Linked DNA regions of Homo sapiens: region 2 is linked to region 1. The links are contacts of gene promoters, found by promoter capture Hi-C in human tissues and cell types (Jung and others, 2019). All regions are on one chromosome and are shown on one strand. The core of a region is centred on a gene start or on the middle of the fragment in contact, and the rest is flanking DNA. Distances in the headings are between cores, read along the strand shown.

What was found. The method cuts DNA at HindIII sites, captures the fragments that hold promoters and counts their contacts. A contact is called where the count stands out against the background at its distance.
Region 2: a fragment that was not itself captured here is called in contact with the fragment with the promoter of KCNK3 in region 1 in 1 of the 25 tissues and cell types used here (mesenchymal stem cells).

The regions. Positions count from the first base shown.
Region 1 is chr2:26,691,361-26,695,569 of GRCh38, forward strand. KCNK3 (potassium two pore domain channel subfamily K member 3) reads left to right here and starts at 1,362. Exons shown (of 2, transcript NM_002246.3): 1 at 1,362-1,798. The coding sequence starts at 1,516. The HindIII fragment of the contact is 34,558 bases long and covers 1-4,209 here.
Region 2 is chr2:26,374,235-26,378,529 of GRCh38, forward strand. SELENOI (selenoprotein I) reads left to right here. Exons shown (of 10, transcript NM_033505.4): 6 at 806-914. Among named protein-coding and RNA genes, the nearest start is that of DRC1, 26 kb to the right of the region's middle. The HindIII fragment of the contact is 4,975 bases long and covers 1-4,295 here.

The sequences.
Region 1 (4,209 bases), core at 112-2,611:
CCCATGCCAGGGTCCTGTGAAGGACTTTTTAACCCTTCTTGGCACTGAGATTTGCATTCCAATCATTCTGCTCACTCAGCCCATCCAAGTCTGGAGTTGTTTAGAGCTGGGCAAGGCCTGTGGGATCATCTGCTACGACACCTCGTTGAAAAGATAAGGAAACAAGGCTCTGAGAGGGTCAGTAATGCCTGAGTTTCCACTACCCTTCCCACCTCACCACCATAGCCACCATGTTTGACAAATGAAGAAACTGAGGCATAGGGACCCCCTCTCCTGCCCCAGTTCCCGCAGTCTGCCAGTGAGCCTCCTGCTCTGGGCCCCACCTGCCCAATTCCAGCTAGATCCCGGTTCTGCTGGGATGCCCTAAGGTGGTGGCAGGTGCTATCTCTGGCAACTCAGCCTAAGCCCAGCCTGGTGCACGGGTGCAAGACAGGAACCATGGGAGTCGGGACAGCCTAGAAGCCCCTGGGAGCGAAGCAGGAGGCCTAGACTCCCAGCCTGTGCCTTCTCAGCCAGTTCCAAGAACTGTGCTGACCTGGGAAGGCACACATTGCCTGAGAACAGGGCTTTCCCTTGGGTGTCAGCTCATGTGTGCCCAGGTCCACAGCTGGGCCCTGCCTGCTTCCAAGACAGCCAGAGTCTGGCCCAAGGGAGGAAGGAGTGTGGCCTGGGAGGAAGGAACGCTTGGCTGAGTCCCAGTGCTGTCACGAAATCACTGCGTGCCCATGCGTGTCACTTGACCTCTCTGGGCCTCCATTTCCTCATCCATAGGATAAGGGCAGGACAGCGAGGCCCCAAGTGCCTCCTGGCTGCAATATGCTGTGATGAGGGTGGAGGGTGGGGTGGGGAGGGGCTCGCTCTGCCTTCCTTGCCTTCCTGTCTGTTTCTCTGTCATTAGTTTATCTCCAGCAATCCAGGCCTCTCTGTCTCAGTCTGTTGCTCTCTCTGTTTCCATCTTTTGCTCTGTATTTTTCTGCCCGCCTCTCTTCTTTTTCTGTCTGAGTGCACCTCTGATTTTATCTCCTCCTCTGTCACACAGCCCCCTTCCCTCAGTCCTACACTGCCTTTCTCCCATTCTCCGTAGTTATCAGCGTTTCGCTGTCTAGTTTTCTCTGTCTCTCGGGCTCGCTCTCTCTCTCTTTCTCTCTCTCTGTCCTGCCCGGGCTCTCTCGCGGCCGCCCCTCCCGTCCCCTCCGCCAGCCCCCCTCCTCCCTCCTCGGCGCGTCTCCCCAGTCCTTATTTGGCTGGGCGGGAGGGCTGGCGGGAGGAGGCGGCCTGCGGGCGGGGGGCGGGGGGCGGGCGCGGGGCCGGGCGGAGGAGGGCGGTGGGTGGTGCTGAAGGGACAGCTCCGCGGCGGCGGCGGCGGCGGCGGCCCCGGGCGCTGAGCGGGTGCCCGGCGCGGAGAGCGGCGAGCGCAGCCATGCCCCAGGCCGCCTCCGGGGCAGCAGCAGCGGCGGCCGGGGCCGAGGCGCGGGCCGGGGGCGCCGGGGGGCCGGCGGCGGCCCGGGCGGGACGATGAAGCGGCAGAACGTGCGCACGCTGGCGCTCATCGTGTGCACCTTCACCTACCTGCTGGTGGGCGCCGCGGTCTTCGACGCGCTGGAGTCGGAGCCCGAGCTGATCGAGCGGCAGCGGCTGGAGCTGCGGCAGCAGGAGCTGCGGGCGCGCTACAACCTCAGCCAGGGCGGCTACGAGGAGCTGGAGCGCGTCGTGCTGCGCCTCAAGCCGCACAAGGCCGGCGTGCAGTGGCGCTTCGCCGGCTCCTTCTACTTCGCCATCACCGTCATCACCACCATCGGTAACGGCTCGCCGGGCGGGGGGCGGGAACCCAGGGCTGGGCGCGGGGCTCCGGGAGTCGTCCGGGGCCGGCTGGGGCTGGGGGCGGGGGCTCCCCCGAGAGGGGCTGGGCGCCGAACCCTGCGCTCGCAGAAACCCGAGTTCAGCCTGGCGTGTGTGCTCCGCGGGGACGGAACTCGGGGAGGCGTCGATTCCTGGCTCCGGACCTGACTCTCCGGCCGGGCCAGCCCTAACTTGGCCCTGCCATGTTGCATAGGCCCCCAGGGACTCCGAAGTGTGTGAGAGGGGCAGGGACGACCGGCGGAGGCTCGGGCAGGAGGGGTGTGGCCGGGCCAGGCCCTGAACAGGGCGCTGAGAGTGAGCGGCGGGAGAGCGCCAGTGCTCCGTATCCCTGAGGATCGGCTTCCACAGCCTAGCAGGTCTACACCTGCTGGGCTCTGGGGAGGCATGAGGATGTCGGAATGCGGCACTTCGGGGCACTTGGGGCCACCCTATAACGGCGGCTGTGAGTGTACGTGTGTCTGCGTGTTTCAGCTCCAGGAGTTTGGTCGCCACCAGTCAGTGCCTGTGATTTTCTCAGAGCGGCAGAATTGGTGCGGGAAGCCAGATCTGGCCTTGTCAGCCTTCTTCTCTGCTGTCCCAGCAAAACAGTCACCTCACAGGAATAACCCCAGTTCTTTCCAAGCCAGGGCAGATCACCATGTAGGAGGCCACACGTACACCCAGACTGTCAGACAACACAGGCATAGGCACACATGCACACAGATACACACAGGCACTCACAGGGTACACACAGGGCGGGCACACACACACACACACACAGAGAGAGAGACAGAGAGAGAGAGAGAGAACAAACGTTGCCCAGGAAAGGAATCTCTAGCCAGGCCCTTGGTGGTGCTATTCAAAACTGTCCAGACGGGAATAACACCTTACCTGTCCCCAACACCCTATGATTTCAGCCCAGCTCCATCACTACCGTGATATATGACCTTGGGCAAGTCCCTTCCCCTGTCTGGGTCTCAGGCTCACCTCCAGACAAGGAGGGGTGGCCAAAATGATCTCAAGAGCTCCTCCCCAGCCCCGACGTGCTTGGATTCTGAGATGAAACCCACCTTCCCCCAAAGCCCATTGAGATGCCTCCAGAAGCAGTTTCCTCTGTCTTTACTGTTCCCTCTCCTCTCCCTAGTCCCCTTCCCTGCCTTGATCAGACTCCCAGGGGTTCGTTGCCACTTAGCGCAGCCCATGAAGATGGCATTGTTTTCCTGGGAGTCAACAGGAGCTGAGGGAGTAAAAGGCAGGACTAGACACTCTTCCTGCGGTCTATCCACTGCAGGACACTGTTCCAAGAATCTACGGCTCCCTGGGGACCATGGGGAGCTATGCTGTGTCGTTTCTGGATTCTTCTCTTGGAAGAGGGAGGAAAGGGCCCTGGGAGTGGATGTGGCCCAGCTGGGGCACCTCTGGGTCCTACTGGTCCTGTGAGTTTAGGATAGGATGATCAGACTTAGGTCTGCCCAAAGAGGAGCCCGCTTCCTGAAAAACACCAGCCCAGATTTGGTCTGCAGTCTCTTCCACTCTCACACCCCACTACTATTTGCCAGGGTTTCAGTAGCTGTTTAGCTGTCTGGAGAATCAAAAGAATCAGACTGAACATCTTTGGACCCTCTCTCTCCCTCTTTTCCACACGTCAAGCCTTCACGCGTGTCCCCTTTCCTTCTCAGGCCCATGGTCCCCAGCTTCATAGTAACCTCCCAACTGACCTCCCTGCCTACCCCACAACAAGGCATGCTCCCCTGGACAATGCTGCCAGAAAGAAAAACTCAGCTGTCACCAAACCAATTCCCTTCTTGGAATCCCTCAATGACTCTCCACTGTCCATGGAATCTGGTCTATGCTCCTTATCTCAAATTTTGAGGATCTCCATACCTGGCTCCAACCTCTATGTCTGACTTCACATCTCACTTCTTACTTATGTGATCCCTCTCGATAGCTGCCAACCTGTCCTCTGAGAATACCTTAAGTATGCCTGTCTGGCATGCCTTTTTCTCTGCCCTTTTTCTTTTCTTTTTTCTTTTTTTGAGAGAAAGAGTCTCACTCTGTCTCACCCAGGCTGGAATGCAGTGGTGTAATCATAGTTCAGCACAACCTCAAACCCCTGGCCTCAAGCGATCCTCTCACCTGGGCCTCCCAAAGTGCTGGGATTACAGGTGTGAGCCACTGCGCCTGGCTCTACCTTCTATTTATCTTGTCCATGCTAACCTTCCAGGTCCAGCTCAAATCCCCCCTCCTCCTCAAAGCCTCCCAGGCCACTGCTCTGGACAACTGCAGGTCTCACTGTGAGGATGATCTGGGTGACACGCTGTTGGCTGTTTTGAATGGTTATTTGCATTATAGGGGAAGTGTTTTGTCTCT
Region 2 (4,295 bases), core at 908-3,407, 320 kb before region 1:
CACATATAATTGAATGGTTGGCTTTTTGTGTTCATTGCCACCTTTTCAGTGTGTAGAGAGATTTCTTTTTTCTTACTTTAATGGCCTTGCTATTAACTCTCCCTGCCTTGAATCCCAGCTTTTTGTGTTGCCATTTTGCCCATTTGCACCTAAGTCTCCAGTAAAGAAATCAGAAGTTGGAGTGTTTGTTGAAGTGGTTGGGTGGGTAAATTTGGATCATCTTACAACTTAACCAATTTATGAGTTGCTGTTAAAGTGCTCCAAATGATGGCCAGTTGCTTGCATTGTCTACAAGTTAGTTATTTTATAGCATTGTTGGCTAAAAGATTGTATTTTTTTTTTTTTTTTTTTGAGACAGAATTTCGCTATTGTTGCCCAGGCTGGAGTGCAATGGTGTGATCTCGGCTCACCGCAACCTCTGCCTCCTGGGTTCAGGCGATTCTTCCGCCTCAGCCTCCCAAGTAGCTGGGATTACAGGCATGCGCCACCACGCCTGGCTAATTTTGTATTTTTAGTAGAGATGGGGTTTCTCCATGTTGGTCAGGCTGGTCTGGAACTCCTGACACCTCAGGTGATCTGCCCGTCTTGGCCTCCCAGAGTGCTGGGATTACAGGCATGAGCCCCCACGTCCAGCCAAAAGATTGTATTTTTAAAGGTAAGAAGACTTGCCACATACCAAATATAAGCATACTTCTTGCCTTTACTAAAACTGTTTGACTTGACTTAATGCTGCATAAAGCATGGTGACTCCTGATCTTTCTAGCGTTAATGCTTCTGTATGCTTTTGTCTGCATTTTCCTTCCAGACTATTTCTTTTGTCTACATAGTGACTGCAGTTGTGGGAGTTGAGGCCTGGTATGAACCTTTCCTGTTTAATTTCTTATATAGAGACCTATTCACTGCAATGATTATTGGTAAGAAGCTCCATGTTGAAGCCTGTTTTAACCATCACTTTGTTATCAAAAGAGCCGGTATTTGACTATAACAAGCAACAACACCCTTTGCCTCACAAAACCTCCAGGAAGCAGAACAACCCTACAACCTTGTAGGATTTCAGCCTAACCATTAAGAAAAATAAGGTTTCCCTGTTTTTGGGGTTTTTTTGTTCAGCATCAGCTATTTCTAATCAGAGGGAAATACCAAAATAGATCACATAAGCCTGATAAAGTGACTATTCAAATTAACCTAGGCTGTATTGGAGGGTCCACATTTGGTACAGGTTTTATATTTATCTCAAAGTTGAAAATTACTAGTTTGTATGAAATACAGGACAGATGAAATGTAGAGATTATTTTATAATGTATCCACTCAAAAAATTAAGCTTCTATTCCTCTCAGATATCCTCTTTCTTAACCCACTGATTGCTAAAGATTTTTTATGGTGGTAATCTTTCTGTTTTGATTTTAGCTGAAGGGGATATCTGTAGGATGATTGACTGAGTGGAGAGGGTATTAGTGGTATGGAACGAGTGTAAAGAGAAATCTAGATGGTTATTTAGGGGCCCCAGGAGTGGCACTGAGAACCTTTGTAGAAGTAAAAAGGTATATGTGTGGGCTATGTCCTGTATTCTGTTCTCTTATCTAAAAAATAGGCCACACACAGTGGCTCATGCCTGTAATCCCAGCACTTTGGGAGGCCAAAGTGGGAGAATCTCTTGAGCCCAGGGGTTTGAGACCAGCTTGGGCAACATAGTGAAACCCTGTCTCTAGAAAAAACTAAAGTTAATCAGGTGTGGTGCGTGCACCTGTAATGCTAGCTACCTGAGAGGCTGAGGTCAGAGGATTACCGGAGCCCAGTGAGCTATGATCGCATGTGCCACTGCACTCCAGCCTGGGTGACAGAGCGAGACCCTGTCTCAAAAAAAAAAAAAAAAAAGAATAAATAAAAAATAACCCTTTCCCATTTGGTGAACCTTGGTAATGGAATGGGAATTAGGTAAGGCTTAGAAACTGTTTAGAAGATGGTATATTAGGCACTGGCTTTCAGAAAAGGAGTGGTTTGGGCTTTTTTCTGTAGCTCTAGACTGTGCATATTTTAGGAACTATCTTGAAATCTATCAAATGTTCATTTTTGATACCTGTATAAACTGTTTTTTCTTTACCTCAAAAATGCTATTTTTCTTCTCCAATTATGTAGTGACCCTTTTGATTGTCCCATGGCAGGTTTCCTGCATGTTACATTTAAGTGTTAAATTTAGATAAGACAGAATCCTCTGGTATATGAGACATATTTTTTAATGTTAAGTGTGTACTCTAATAGGCACATAATTTTCTTTATAATGTTTCTACTTTTATATAATAAACCCCTGTGTACTATTACCCAGTCTCAACTATTTTCAATACCAGTGCCAATCTTGTTTGAAATGCACCAGTACTCTTTAGCCCCCTGCTTAGCCCCCGGGTTGTGTTATAATATACAGTTTATTTACTTACTGACATATTTGCCTTATATTTGACCTACCATGTGGTGTTCTTTCCCAGAAGTTTGAAGGACTTCCTTTAGGTTTTTTTATAGTGCAGGTCTGGTAGCAGTTTATTCTCTCTTTTTACTTACGTGAAAGTGTATTGATTTTGCCTGAATTTTTTCTTTTGGCATTTTGAATATATCATTTTAATGTCTTTTGACATCCATTGTTTCTGAGTCAGCTCATATATCATTGTCACTCTGTAATGTATTATTTTTCTCTTGTTGCTTTCAAGGTTCTCTTTTTATCTTTGGCTTTCGGAAGTTTGACTGTGATGTACCTAGGTGTGGTTTTCTTTGTGTTTGTCTTTCTTGGTATTTGTTGAGCTGTTGACTCTGTTGGACCTGTAAGTATTTTTGACTGAATGTGTGAAGTTTTCAGTCACAGTTTCACTTCTTGAGATATTTTTTCTTCCCCTCTCTCTTCTTTTCTGGGACCCCACTTACATGTGTGTTACACAGGTTTGCCTGATACTGTCCTAAAAGTAATTTTCTATGGCTTTATTAAGTTTTCTTTAATCTCTTTATTCTTTGTAGTGGATAACTTTTATTCATCTGTCTTTAAATTCATTGCTTTTTTTTTCTTCTGCCATCTCCAATATGCTGTTGAGCCCATCTAGGAAGTCTTTCATTTAAGTTATTGTACTTTTCCCTGGGTGCGGTGGCTCACACCTGTAGTCCCAGCACTTTGAGAGGCTGAGGTGGGAGGATTGCTTGAGGCCAGGAAGTCAAGACCAGCCTGGGTAACATAGTGGGATCACGTCTCTACAAAAAAATAGAAAAATTAAGCCAAATATGGTGGTGCATGCCTGTAGTCCCAGTTACTTGGGAGGCTGAGGCAGGAGGATCACTTGAGCCCAGGAAGTCGAGGCTGCAGTGAGCTGTAATTGTGCCACTGTACTCCAGCCTGGGCAACAGAGTCAGACCCTGTCTCAAAAAAAAAAAAGTTATTGTACTTTTCAGCTGTAGAATTTCCATTTGGTTTTTAAACTTTCTATTTCTCTGTTGAGATTCTTCTGTTCATTATTATCATCATATTTTCCTTTAGTTCTTTGAACATATTTAAAATTGCTGCTTTAAAGTCTGTCTACTGAGTCCAACATCTGGGCCCACTTAAGAGTCATTTTCTGTTGACTGCTTTTTTTTCTATTTCTTTGCATACCTAGCAATTTTTTTTTTGTTGTTGTTGAAAACTGGATATTATAGATTATATTTGTGGAGACTATAATCTGTTCTGCTCTGAGGATTTTTGGTTTTTTGTTCTGATAGGCATTTAACTTGTTTGGACACAGATGAAGAAATTTGTCCCATCACATTGTATTAAGTAGCTCTTGTCTCTGTTTGGTTATTTTCAGCTTTTAGCTGCTGCTTTTTTAGCCAGGTCTCTTGGGGGTCTCCTTTGTGTCTGTGTAGTTTAGTGGTCAGCCAAAGATTTGGGCAAAGTCGATACTGAGATTTTGGCGCTCACCTCTCTATGATTTTTTTGCTTTTGGGGTTTCCCCATCTGAATCTTCGGCTGCTCTTCCAGCAATTGTGTTCTGCCCCCAACCCTCAAGCCAGTAAGGGCTCTGCCTTCTTCAGCCCAGTCTGAGTGTGGGTTGGGAACACACTTAGTAAGAGATACAGCAGACTCACATCTCACCAAGAACACCTCTGTCTTTCAAGCACAGCATCTCCTCTACTTTCTGCCTTCTCTTTCACTATGTTCTGTGGGGTCTCCGATTTGCTTGCTTAGTTTAGCATCCACCCAGGAATCTGGGCAGAGCATATACTCAGATTTAGAATCTCAACCCTTCTGCATCTCTCTCTTCTACAATATCCCCCACCCTGCT